2 separate regions of the Homo sapiens genome follow, and region 1 is linked to region 2. Evidence: promoter capture Hi-C in human tissues and cell types (Jung and others, 2019). All regions are on one chromosome and are shown on one strand. The core of a region is centred on a gene start or on the middle of the fragment in contact, and the rest is flanking DNA. Distances in the headings are between cores, read along the strand shown.

The links. Contacts are between HindIII fragments. The study calls those that stand out against the background at their distance.
Region 1: a fragment that was not itself captured here is called in contact with the fragment with the promoter of GRHPR in region 2 in 1 of the 25 tissues and cell types used here (lymphoblastoid cells).

Annotation. Positions count from the first base shown.
Region 1 is chr9:36,777,233-36,783,956 of GRCh38, reverse strand. LOC105376030 (a long non-coding RNA gene) reads right to left here and starts at 4,219. Exons shown (of 3, transcript XR_001746662.3): 1 at 4,080-4,219; 2 at 2,064-2,487. The HindIII fragment of the contact is 9,066 bases long and covers 1-6,341 here.
Region 2 is chr9:37,419,336-37,425,637 of GRCh38, reverse strand. It overlaps GRHPR (glyoxylate and hydroxypyruvate reductase), which reads right to left and starts at 2,942. Exons shown (of 9, transcript NM_012203.2): 1 at 2,805-2,942; 2 at 663-793. The coding sequence starts at 2,887. It overlaps LOC105376035 (a long non-coding RNA gene), which reads right to left. Exons shown (of 4, transcript XR_007061479.1): 4 at 6,130-6,302. RefSeq lists enhancers at 1-670, 2,345-2,970, 2,971-3,596 and a silencer at 2,981-3,130. The HindIII fragment of the contact is 13,627 bases long and covers 1-6,302 here.

The DNA.
Region 1 (6,724 bases), core at 559-3,058, 640 kb after region 2:
CCAAGGTCACAGAGTTCATAAGAGGTGGGGCCAGGCTCCAAGTCCAGGCAGTGATGACTACTAGAAAATATTGTCTCTCAAGAGACTGGGGTGTCCTGATGGTGCTGGTAAAGCCCTAGAACCCACAGGTGCAATGTCAGCGATGGAGTCAATAGATATTCATTTTTCCTTCCATTTTGGGGGTTCAGGGGTTTTATTTTGGTTTTGGTTTTTTATTTTTTTGAGACAGGCTATCATTCTTTCACTCAGGCTAGAGTGCAGTGGCGTGACCATGGCCCTGCATCCTCCACTTCCCAGACTCAAGTGATCCTCCAGCCTCGGCCTCCCAAGTAGCTGGGACCACAGGCACCCACCATCACACCTGGCTAATTTTTGTATTTTTTGTACAGATTGGGTCTCACTGTGTTGCACAGGTGGGTCTCAAACTCCTGACCTCAAGTGATCCACCCACCTTGGCCTCCCAAAGTGCTGGGATTACAGGTGTGAGCCACCGTGCCCCGCCAGGTTATTGCTTAAATTCTTTTGATTTGGTTTTCCGTCTCTAACCACCCCACCCCACCCCATGGGCATCCCAGCTCTGTGGACCTTGCCGTACAGCATATGTCTCGGGCGCTTCGTCATTCCACCCTCTCCACACCTCCCCTGGGTGCACTACCATTTGAGGATGTCCTTTATTTCTTGCCTTGTAACAGAGTTTCTTAAAAATGACACACGGGCTCTCTGGATGGTCCTCAGGGATCCAAAAGCAGAGAATGGCTGGAAAGGGCAGCAGGGAGCCTGAAGGGAGTTTCTTGAAAAATTCATCAGAGAAAATCTTTCTCCCAAGTTTGAAGCAGAGAGAATTAAAGGAAAGAGGAATGACAACAAACACATGAGAAGTTCATGAGTGACCTTAGGGAACTGGGCATCAACCAAGGCTTGGGGGTTGACTGGGAGAGATGGAAGGAGGAAAGAGGACGAGGAGGAGACCTTGTCAATGTCTTCCTCCACGACATGCTCTCCAGGCCCTGTCAACCATTTCTCTCCAAGCATCTCTCCAATTCGGCCCTTTATCTCCTGTAAGAAATCTCAGGGCTGACCAAGTCCCACAAAAAGACAGTTCTAGCGCTCTAAGGGGAGGGAGATTTCCTGATGAGTAGAATTTTTCAGTCTGGAGCACCATGATTTTGTGCGAGAACACAAAATCACATTATGTAAAACCCAGAGGGCTGCAGAAAAGACACAGGGAACTTGCCATCAGCTCCCAACCCCCATGCTCTGGAGGCAGCTGGTAGCAGGTGAGAGACAAAGTTTCAGGCCAAAAGATAAAAGTGCGATTAATAAATAGTGGGTGGTAAATGTTTATAATTCAGGATCTCATACTGTCAGAATGCAACATGTTGAAGGAGGACTTGGAGAATGTCAGAGGCCTCTGATGGGAGGCAGTTTGGTGACACGTGCTGGCCTTAGTGTTGATGAGAGACAGGGTGAATGCGTGACAAAGAAGGAAGAGGCAGGAGGCTGGGAAGGAAGACAGAAAACAGAAGCAATGGGATGATGGGAAGAGAGGACAGGAGAGAAAACAGAAAGTGGAAGAGAAAGATAAGACATGGAGGAGCTGGGACGGAACAGCTCCCAGAGCAGTGGGGGAGGGTGGGACTGCCCACCACGTATGAGGGCAGAGATGCCCAGATCAAAGAGGGGGCCCATCCGGCTGCATCATGGGGCATATAATGGGAGGCCTTGGGCCTGTATGAATAGCAGAGGGGGCTAGGAGTCCGACAGATGCCATTAAGAAGCGACTTGATAACCCTCATTAAACAGAACTTCACAAATGGCTTAATTTGAATTTCCAATACTTGATAGATTTCAAACCCAGAACAATTACTTCTGATGTAAAGGATCAATTCACGGTTTCCTGAACTGAATCCTAAGGAAATGGAAACACTTCCAACAGGGTTGCTCAGATTAAAACTCCTTCAAATGCCAAATAGACACTGACTTATCTCTTTTTAAACAACTTTTTTTGTAAGGCAAAGGTTAGCATTGTAAGGAAAGGCAGGATGAAAATTAAACTCACGTACTATGACCTCCTCGGGCTGGGTTTGAATTACATTTCCACATGGCCTGTGAAGATCTTTCATGTCTCTCGCTCCATTAGTTGGTGTACTTAGCAAAGGTCGGGTAACGAACAGGCATACTTTTCTAGCCCAGAACAAGATCCTGGCACACAGCCTTTTCCTGCCTTCCCTGGTGTGTTGGAGGTCACCGGTGTGGGCGTGAGTCATCTCTGCATGCTCCACATCCTGAAGGTGCCTGCAGATGATGGACGTTAACTACCATTGTCGCCACAGTTCCGGGATGGCACAGGTCTCACATGCTTCCCCAGTGCTCTGGGGGCCAGAGAGAATTTAGTGGAAATCCTCAAGTGTGTCTGTTTGAATTTTCCGCAGGGGAAATTCATGTGTGCTTTTCAGGGAACGGCTTCATTTCAAGCAACTCTGCCAGCTGAAGTCAAAAGAGGGAGGAGGAAGCAGAGGAAGACAAAGAGAAGAAATGGCGAGAGAAGTCAGTGGAATAAGAAAGCTTCCCATCCCCAGACACTCAGAGCTTTCTGTCTGCTGGTCTCAACCGTGGTTCACATTCATGTGGGTCTCTGAGCTTCATGGTCCACTTTGCCCCATTTCTTTGCCTTCAGAGTAGGATCTGAATTCACCCCTTTCATAAGATGGCATTAGCCGAAAAGATGGGCAGAGCTTGTGTTGGGTAATAACAACATGTGCTCTTATTCTTCTCCAGCAATGGAACCTCCCTGTTCTGGGGACATAGACAGATGAACTAGGTCTGGCCTTGCCCCCAGGGAACTTAAAACTGAGGAAAGCAGATGTGTAAGTCATTGGCTGGCACCCACGGGCACTGGGGATTCCGGCCATGCCTCCCCCTCCACCCACCACCTGAAAGAACACAGCCCAGGTTTCCTGCGGGCAGAGAAGAATGTTCAACCTGTTTATGGAAGGGAATTCAACTTCTTCTCTGTCCTGCTTTTCCTCCCTCTGCCTCTTCTATCTTAGAAGTCACTCAGCCATCTGTTGGGTTATGCTTCCTCCGGTCTCTTTCCCCAGTAGTTTGGAAGATACACATTCTATTCCTGGTTGTTTAGTGCTGACTCTTTGAACATTTAAACACATCCTGAATGTTACACTTTTCAACGACTGAAGGGAATGGGAATCTTTCCTATCATGCTCCTTTCATTCCCCACACCCCAAACTTCTTTACCTAGGAGGGTCACCAGTTTTCAAACGTACACAAAAGGCTGCTGGCTTTTTTTAGCTGATGCTTGTGTGAAGGAGTAAGGAACGTATGGGTGAGAACCAAGAAGACTGCAGGGGGAAAAGCAAGGGGGAGGTTACTGAGCCCAAGGACAGGAAATGGATTGTGGCTGGAGGACTGTGGGGGAGCAATCGGAAGAACCCAGGCACAGTCTAAATGTCCAGGCCGACCAGCCACCCAATCTTCAGGTCTCCTGCTCTCTGAGCCCTGGCCACCAGCGCCCCAGTGACTGAGTGAGGAGGAGCTGTCTTCGGGGCACCTCCCCACTGTGCCAGAGGGGCCCCCGCATGCAGTGAGGGGGGGCTCCGTGCTGTTCTTTGGGATGAAAGCCAGCACACCAGGACAGCCAGGGCTGGGATCGTGGGGGTGACATCAAAGATCCCCAGCTCTCTCCTCTCCATCCCCTGCCTCTCCTTTTTACTGGGCTAAGAATCTGCCAATGACAAGCCCTCCTACGGGAAAGAGAAACTGTGAGATGGGTTGTGAAATCAGACAACATTCAGAACCAGAGCCCGCAGCCGTGGCAGATCCTCACCTCCCAAAGAGCCATTCGGAGGATCTACCCAAGGCTCCCCCCACCTTGCCAGCCTGTCTACTTATAATTGTTATTTTTCTGGAACTAGCTATCAAAATGGATATAGAATATTCCTCATTCCGTACCCAGGACCTAGAGTGACCTTTTGAAAATGTAAATTGGATCATATCCCTTCCCTGTATAAAGTCCTTTGACTGCTTCCCTTCTCCCTTAAAATAAAATCCAAAGTCCTTACCGTGCCCTGCAGGGCTCTGTGTGGCCTGGCCGCTGTCTGCTTCTCTCACCGGATGATGTGCTGTTCCTGCCTTGCTCATCACACTCCAGCCCTGCACGGCAGCTTCTCCGTTCCTTGGAACTGCTGGTCTGGTTCCAGCTCACGCCCTCTGCACAAGAAGGTCCCTCCACTGAGAACACTGTCTCTCTTCTTCTCTTGTCCTAGCTCGCTCCTTCTCATCCATCAAATCTCAACCTCAATGTCACCCCCTCGGAGAAGACTTCTCCAACCCCCCTATTGAAATTAAGCACCACCACCCTATATATTTTCTTTACACGGCACCGTCTTCCTTTGCAGCACTTGCCTCAATGCGTGATTACTTCTCCATGCGCATGGCTTCCTTGTTTATTGTCACTCTTGTCCCACCAGGCTGCAAGTTCCACTGAAAAAGGCCCTGTCTTCTTCACTACTGTTTCTCCAGCACCTAGAACAAGGCCCTGTACATAAAGGCTACTCAGTCATTATTTGTTAAGGGAATGAATGAATTTATTAAATAAACATTTAGTGAGCATTTCAAGGTTGTGGTGAAGATCAAGTGAGATAAACGATTATCACCATAAGCAGCCTCATTACTATTTGTACCTGCAATAAACTTGCAGACAATCGCATGGGCCAACCACCAGCCCATTTTGGGTTACTTCCAGCACAATCCGAACAATAGCAACCATGGAAAAGGTCAAGGTTCCGCCACACTATGCACAACAAGAAGCATGTACACTCTGATCATCTGGATTAATCTCCGGACTTAGGTTTGATCTATTTCTGTCAAGCAAGCAAATATATATTGATATTTGCAAAGAGCCTCATGCATGTGGTGCCCACTAAAATATGGCTGCATTTTCCATAGTAATTGTCTCTAGAAGCTCATTCCCAGCTGCACTGGCTCATTTAGCTAATCTGCAGTAAGTACGGTATTGATCCAAGCAGCAAGAGAGGAGCACATTAACCTGGCCCAAGGAAGGGTGATTAGTTTGGCTGCACGGTCACTTCACAGAATTGGCTGAGATCTAAAAGCCACACTGAAATAGTCTGGAAGTCAGCCCCCTATCCTCACCTCCCCACCTCCCCTCCTGAGCAACACACACATTCGCACAGGCAGGGGATCTGAGCTGGTCACAAGGAGAGTGGCAGTGTGACAGCAGCACCACAAGGAGACATTATCCCTCCCAGGAAAGGCTCTTGTCATTCATTCCTTCATTCATTCATAAGAGACGATATGTTACAAATGTGATAATACCCAGTGCTCACTAAGATGAATCAATATTGATATTCTCATATGCTGCTTATGGAAATGGAAATGAGTAAAATTATTTGAAAAGCCAATTTAGCAGAATGTATCAAAATGTTTATATGATTCGACCCCGTAATTCTACTTCTCTGAATATATTCTTAGTAAATAGTCAGGGATGTGCAGTATTGCTTATAATAATTATAAATGTCCAAAATTAGGGACTGGTTAACTGACTAACCTACTGTATATTTTTTCAGAGAATATTCTTTAGTCATTGAAAAGTATTTGTGATTTATCATATGGGGAAGGGGCCAGGGGACAATCAGCTTTCAAAACAGTGTGGATAATTTGTAGATCATTATCCCAAAATGTTTAAAACTAAATTTGCAGCTGGGCGTGGTGGTGCACATCTGTAGTCCTAGAGTAGTAGTACTCCAGAGGCTGAGGTGGGAGGATTGCTTGGGCCCAAGAGATTGAGGCTGCAGTGAGCCATGATCAAGCCACTGCACTCCAGCCTGGGTGACAGAGCAAGACCCTGTCTCAAGGAAAACAAACAAACTAAATTTGCTAATATCCATAGAAAAACTACTGGGTTGTTGATTAAGAAAATGTGGCACATGGCCGGGCGTGGTGGCTCACGCCTGTAATCCCAGCACTTTGGGAGGCCGAGGCGGGTGGATCATGAGGTCAGGAGATCGAGACCATCCTGGCTAACAAGGTGAAACCCCGTCTCTACTAAAAATACAAAAAATTAGCCGGGCGCAGTGGCGGGCACCTGTAGTCCCAGCTACTCGGGAGGCTGAGGCAGGAGAATGGCGTGAACCCGGGAAGCGGAGCTTGCAGTGAGCCGAGATTGCGCCACTGCAGTCCGCAGCCCGGCCTGGGCGACAGAGCGAGACTCCGTCTCAAAAAAAAAAAAAAAGAAAATGTGGCACATATACACCATGGAATACTATGCAGCCATAAAAAATGATGAGTTCATGTCCTTTGTAGGGACATGGATGAAATTGGAAATCATCATTCTCAGTAAACTATTGCAAGAACAAAAAAACCAAACACCGCATATTCTCACTCATAGGTGGGAATTGAACAATGAGAACACATGGACACAGGAAGGGGAACATCACACTCTGGGGACTGTTGTCGGGTGGGGGGAGGAGGGAGGGAGAGCATTGGGAGATATACCTAATGCTAGATGATGAGTTAGTGGGTGCAGCACACCCGCATGTCACATGTATACATATGTAACTAACCTACACATTGTGCACATGTACCCTAAAACTTAAAGTATAATAATAAAAAAAAAAGAAAAGAAAAACTACTGGGTTGATAAAAGAAAAGGTGGATGCACCAGAGAATGTTATATTATTCTCCA
Region 2 (6,302 bases), core at 1,693-4,192:
CTCCGGTCTTCTTTAGCCACGCTGGGGCCTCCCCCATGGACACCTCTGAGAGTGCCAAGAAGGTGGCTGGGACGTGACCCTCTCTACCCTCTCCTGCAAGCAGGACACCACAAAGCTTCCAGGCCAAGGCCAGGATGTGGGGCGGCTCAGCACTGACTCACAAGGGTCCCTTCCCATCTGGCAGCCTCTGAGTCTGAACCTTTTCTCAAAACTGTCACAACAGCCTCACAGGGGGAGGTTTATTCTTCCATGGGCTGAGACCCGTGGCTGCGGTTGAGGAAAGACATCCTGCTGGGGCTTGGCACTGAGCTAGGTCCTCCCTCATACTACGCACACGCCCAGAAGGGGCAGGGTCTTGCTGGAGGTCACAGAGCAAGGTTGTGGCAGGGCTGGAGAACCCAGGGCCTTGGATGCACTTCCCCACACCCACAGTCTCCACACCGCGGTCTTTGCCCTCCTAGGGTCCCCCGCCAAGGGGTTCACAGCAGGAGGGAGGGGCAGTGCCTGTGCCAGAGCAAGCTATCTGCCCGCTCGGGCCTGGTATCGCAGGAAACGCCCTCAGAACCCAGACAGCACTGCAGAGCAGCCAGGAGCCAGCAGCACAGGCTGAGGGGCCCACAGGGCCAAGCCACCCTCAAGTCCCCTGCCCACCCAGTGTGCACCTGCAGCATCCAGGATCCTCTTGTCCACGTGGTCGGAGAGGAGGCAGAGCAGGCCGTGGGCCCCCGCCACACCTCGCTCTAGCTCCTTGGCAGGGATGGGCTCATCCGAGTCCCACTGCTCCACCTCACAGCTGCGGGGAAAGGGAGGCCCTCAGGAGAAGCAGGAGCCGCACACCTGTCCCCGCCCCTCCCAGCTGGGAATCCTGGCCTCTGATGGCCCTGGCCTCAGGCTGCCCGGGGCTGGCTGAGGGGAGGCAGGGTCAGGCAGGGGTGGTCTCAGAACTGTCCCGAGACAGCAGGTGACAGGTGAAGGGCTGAGGGGCCCCCCAGCAGAGCCTAAGCTGCAAGGGGGAAGGCATGGGGACAGCTCTCAGGTCAGCACAGAGAAGAGCTTTCCCACATTCACAGGGGCTGGGCGGCCAAGCAGGCGGCCAACTGCAGGGAAGGCCCGTGGGGGGCAGGGTGTGCCTCAGGTGGGGGGCCTGGATTCAATGGCCTGTTGCATCTCTTCCTGTCCGTGGAGTCCATGAAATAGAAAACTCTCATAGTTGGACTGGGCCAGGAAAGATAAGGTCAAGGCCACCCAACGCTTCCACGGCAGCTCACAGCAACCAGATATTTGTCCCAGTGATGCACGGTGCCTCCTGGCCCTTGCCATGGAATTCAGTACAGTCAGCACGTGTGGAGCCTCTATGTGGCAGGACACAGGATAGCTACTTGCACCTCCTGACTGAGCCCAGGGCACTGACCACCTTTCATCCACCTCCCCATGAGCAGGGTACAGCGTGAGCTACTGTTACCATGGGCGCGGTTGCTGCCTTCCACCTTCTCCTGCTCAGTACAAAGTGGGTCCTTGGCAAAGGTTTTGTTGCAGTGAACAAAATTTGAAAATCTCATATGCCCCTAGAACTGGCTGCTGAGGCTGGATTGCATCCTCTTCCTATCTAACATTGGAAACACAAACCTGATCAAATGCAGTGATCAGACAGCAGTCAGACACTTCTGAGTACAAGCCCCAGCTCCTCCACCTGGGAGCTGCATGGCTTTGGGAAGAAACTTAACCCTAAGTCCAGCCTCCAGTTTTTAATCTGTGCAATGGGAATTATAATACTGACTTCACAGTGCTACCAGGATTAAAAGTTTATGTATATGAAGCACCTGGCAAGGTTGGCCCACAAAAAGGGTTCCATTTAGCAAGGGTGGGCCAGGTGCAGTGGTTCATGCCTGTAATCCCAGCACTTTGGGAGGCTGAGGTGGGAGGATCCCTTCGTACAGGAGTTCAGGACCAGCCTGGGCAACACAGTGAGACCCTCGTCTTTGAAAAAAATAAAAAATTAGCCAGGCATGGTAGTGCATGCCTGTAGTAGTCCCAGCTACTTGGGAGGCTGAGGTGGAAGTATCTCTTGAGTCCAGGAGGTTGAGGCTGCAGTGAGGTATAATGGTGCCACTGCACTCCAGCCTGGATGAGAGTGAGACCCTGTCTTAAAAATTAAAGGGTCCTCAGGCCAGTCATGGTGACTAACACCTGTAATCCCAACACTTTGGGAGGCTGAGGCAAGAGGATTGCTTGAGCCCAGGAATTTGAGACCAGCCTGAGCAACAGAGTGAGACCCCCATCTCTACAAAAAAAAAATCAGAAAATTAGCCGGTAGTGATTGTTTGCGCCTGTAGTCCCAGCTACTCGGGAGGCTCAGGTGGGAGAACTGATTGGGCCCAAGAAGTCGAGGCTGCAGTAAGCCACGATCGATCGAGCCACTGCACTCCAGCCTGTGCAGCAGAGTGAGACTGTCTCAAAAAAAAAAAAAAAAAGATAAGTAAATATAAAGAAGAAGAGTCATCAAAGCCCCCTGCCAAACGTCCAAGGGCCTGGTCAGTGACCGCCATGTCCCTGACCCCACATGTCCTGTGGGAGCGTGGAGAATTAGCCTGGACCTTGCCTCAGGGGCAATCTCCCCTCTCCAAAGCCGGAACTGCAGGTCCCAGCGTCGTCTTAAGAGGAGAACTGGGCCCCAGAGAACTTTCTCCGAGACTCCCCAAAACTCCAAGCCTGCCCCAGCCGGCCACAAGGCCCAAACGCCCCGCCCGGCTCTCCGGTCCCTGGGACCGCCCTGCTCCCTCCTCCACGGCGCGCGAGGCTCTTACTCTGCCGCCCGGGCGAGCGCGACCCTACCCTCGGCGGGTATCCTGCGGGTGACGAACACCTTCATGAGTCGCACCGGTCTCATCCGCAGTGCAGCCGCCGACCCGGACCTGGCAGTACAGAAGCTGGCCCGGGAATGTAGCTGGGCCGGGGCGGGGCCAGGCTGGAGTGGGCGGGAGAGACGTCGCGCGCGGCGTGCGCAGGGGGTGTGGCTTCGCGAGAGGGAGCGCCGGGTTGCGGCTGAGCGGTGACTGTGCGTGCTCGGGGAGTGACAGTAACAGTGACCCTACACAGTGTCCTTGTGTGTGTGTGGGGGGGTGCGCCTCGTGCCACTGGGGAATCAGGGCCCCGGGGGAGAGGGGGCAGTATCCCGTCCAAGGCCTCATGGGAGCCCTGCTTTTTCTACACGCTCAGGGTCCTGTTTCCACAGGCTCAGGCCTTAAGAGACTGAAAGCCCCCACTTTTTCTGTCTCTTGGGTTGGCCCAGGGTAGAAACCCAGGTTCCAGGCTGTGAGGAAGTCCAGGACACACAGAGAGGTCACGTGTAGGTGTTCAGGCCAACAGCACAGCCAGGGGCCCGGCTCACAGCCACCGTCAATGACCAGAGGTATGAGTGAGGAAGCCTTCGGGTGACTCCAGGCCAACTCCCACCTGACTACAGCTAAAACTGCAAGAAAGAGCCTTTAGGAGAATCACTGGCTGAGCCCAGTCAACCCCGGAACCATAAGAGATGATAATGCACTGACTGCTGTTGCTCTAAGCCGTTCAATTTTGGAGTAATTCTTTATGCAGCAATAAATAAGTGATACGCTATGTGTGCGAAAGCCAGAAGCCATAAGAGTACAACTAATTCTCCATTGAAAAATTAACCGTACCATCCTGAATGCATCTGATCTTGGAAACTAAGCCTGGTTAGGGCTTGTATGGGAGACTGCCTGGAAATACCAGGTGCCTGGAAATACCAGGCTTATGTTTATCTTAAAAAAAAAAAATTAACAAAATCATAAGACAACAAACCGGGAAAAATACCATATATTTGCAACTCATTTTATAGACAAGGGGTTGATTTACTTATTGCACAAATAGTTCCTAAGACAAAGATGCCCAGCTTATCTGAATAAGCAAAGGATATCAATGGACAGTTTATAGAAAAGAAAATGGCCTTTAAATGTATGGCTGGGCGCGGTGGCTCATGCCTGTAATCCCAGCACTTTCGGAGGCCGAGGCAGGCGGATCACTTGAGGTCAGAAGTTTGAGACCAGCCTGGCCAACATGGTGAAACTCTGTCTGTACTGAATATACAAACATTAGGTGGGCATGGTGGCACATGCCTGTAATTCCAGCTACTCAGGAGGCTGAGGCAGGAGAATTGCTCATGAGTCCAGGAGATGGAGGTTGCAGTGAGCCGAGATCCCATCACTACACTCCAGCCTGGGTGACAGAGTGAGACTCCATCTAAAACAAAAAAAAACAAAACAAACAAAAAAAAAAAACAAAAGATGAAAAGTGCTCAACTTGACTCACAAAAGAACTGCATATTAAAATTACAGCAAGATACCAATGTAAAAAATAATACATTGGGGAACCAGGTGCTTTCATACGTTGCTGGTAGGAGTGTAAATCAGCAACTTCAATAAGAAAGTTTGGCAGTAGCTATCAAAGTTTAGACTGCACATCTTTTTTGACCCAGAAATTTTGCTTTTAGGAATTTACCTTACAGACGCGTTCACACATGTGCAAAATGCCATCTGCCAAAGGCTCTTCATTGTGGCATTGTTGGAATAGTAAAATATGGGAAACAACCTAAAGGTCCACTCATAGGGGACTGTTCATTACGTATGCTTCATTCCCACAGTGAAATACTCTGCATCAATCAAAAGAGTGAGGCAGCTCTGTGCGTACCAGTGTGGAATGATCTCCAAGATGTACTGTCCAGTGAGAAAACAGGGTGATGCAAAGTGCATATGTTACCATTTATAGGAGAAAGTATATGCCTATTCTTTTTTTTTTTTTTTTTTTTTTTTTTTTGAGACAGGATCTCAGTCTGTTATCTAGGCTGGAGGGCAATGGTGCAATCTTGGCTCACTGCAACCTCTACCTCCTGTGCTCCAATGATCCTCCCGCCTCAGCCTCCTGAGCAGCTGGGACCACAGGCATGTGCCACCACACCCAGCTAATGTTTTGTATTTTTTGTAGAGACAGGGTTTCATTATGTTGACCGGGCTTGTCTCGAACACCTGGGCTCAAAGCGATCCACTTCCAAAGTTCTGGGATTACAGGCGTGAGCCACGACACCTGGCCACCTATTTCTGTGTGTTAAATATCCCTGGAAAGATGTACAAGAAACATCTTTCTTGTTTCTTTGGGAACAGGCCAGGTGCAGTGGCTCATGGTTTGTAATTCCAGCACTTTGGGAGGCTGAGTCAGGAGCATTGCTTGAGCCCAGGAGTTTGAGACAAGCCTGGGCAACATAGCGAGACCCTGTCTCTACAAAAAAAAATTTTTTTTTAATTACCCAGGCGTAGTGGTGTACACCTGTAGTCCCAGTTACTTGGGAAACTGAAGTAGGAAGATTGCTTGAGCCTGGGAGGCTGGGGCTGCAGTGAACTGTGATTGTGCCACTGCACTCCAGCCTGGGCAACAGAGTGAGTGAGACCCTGTCTCTAACAAAAAAAAAAAAAAAAAAAGAAAAAGAAAAAAGAAGAAACTGGGGACAGTGGCTGCCTCTGGGGAGAAGACCTGGTGAACTGGGACAGAGTAAGAGAGACACAATTTTCACCCTTTGGGAATTTGCATCTTGTGCATTTATTATCTACCCTCAAAATAAAGAAAACATTCATTTAAAAATAGCACTTGGCCAGGCGCGGTGGCTCACGCCTGTAATCCCAGCACTTTGGGAGGCTGAGGCGGGTGGATCACCTGAGCTTAGGAGTTCGAGACCAGCCTGGCCAACATGGTAAAGCCCCGTCTCTACTAAAAATACAAAAAAATTAGCCAGGCTTGGTGGCAGGTGCCCATAATCCAAACTACTCAGGAGGCTGAGGCAGGAAATTGCTTGAACCCAGGGGGTGGAGGTTGCAGTGAGCCAAGATCACGCCACTTTACTCCAGCCTGGGCGACAGAGCGAGACTCTGTCTCAAAAGAAAACAAAAGACAAACAAACAAAAAAACTCCGTCTCAAAAATAAATAAATAAAATAAAATAAATAAAAATAGCATTTGGCCAGGTTTGGTGGCTGATTCCTGTAATCCCAGCACTTTGGGAGGCTAAAGCTGGAGGACTGCTTGAGGTCAGGAGTTCAAGACCAGCATGGGCAATATAGGGAGGCTCCCCCACCCTGTCTTTACAGAAAAATTTAAAAGTTAGCTGGTTGTGGTGGCTGAGTCCCGGAAGGCGGAGGCCGGAGTATCACTTCAGCCCAGGAGTTCAAGGTTACAGTAAGCTATGATTGCACCCCTGCACTCCAGCCTGGGCAACAGAGTAAGACTCTGTCTCAATAA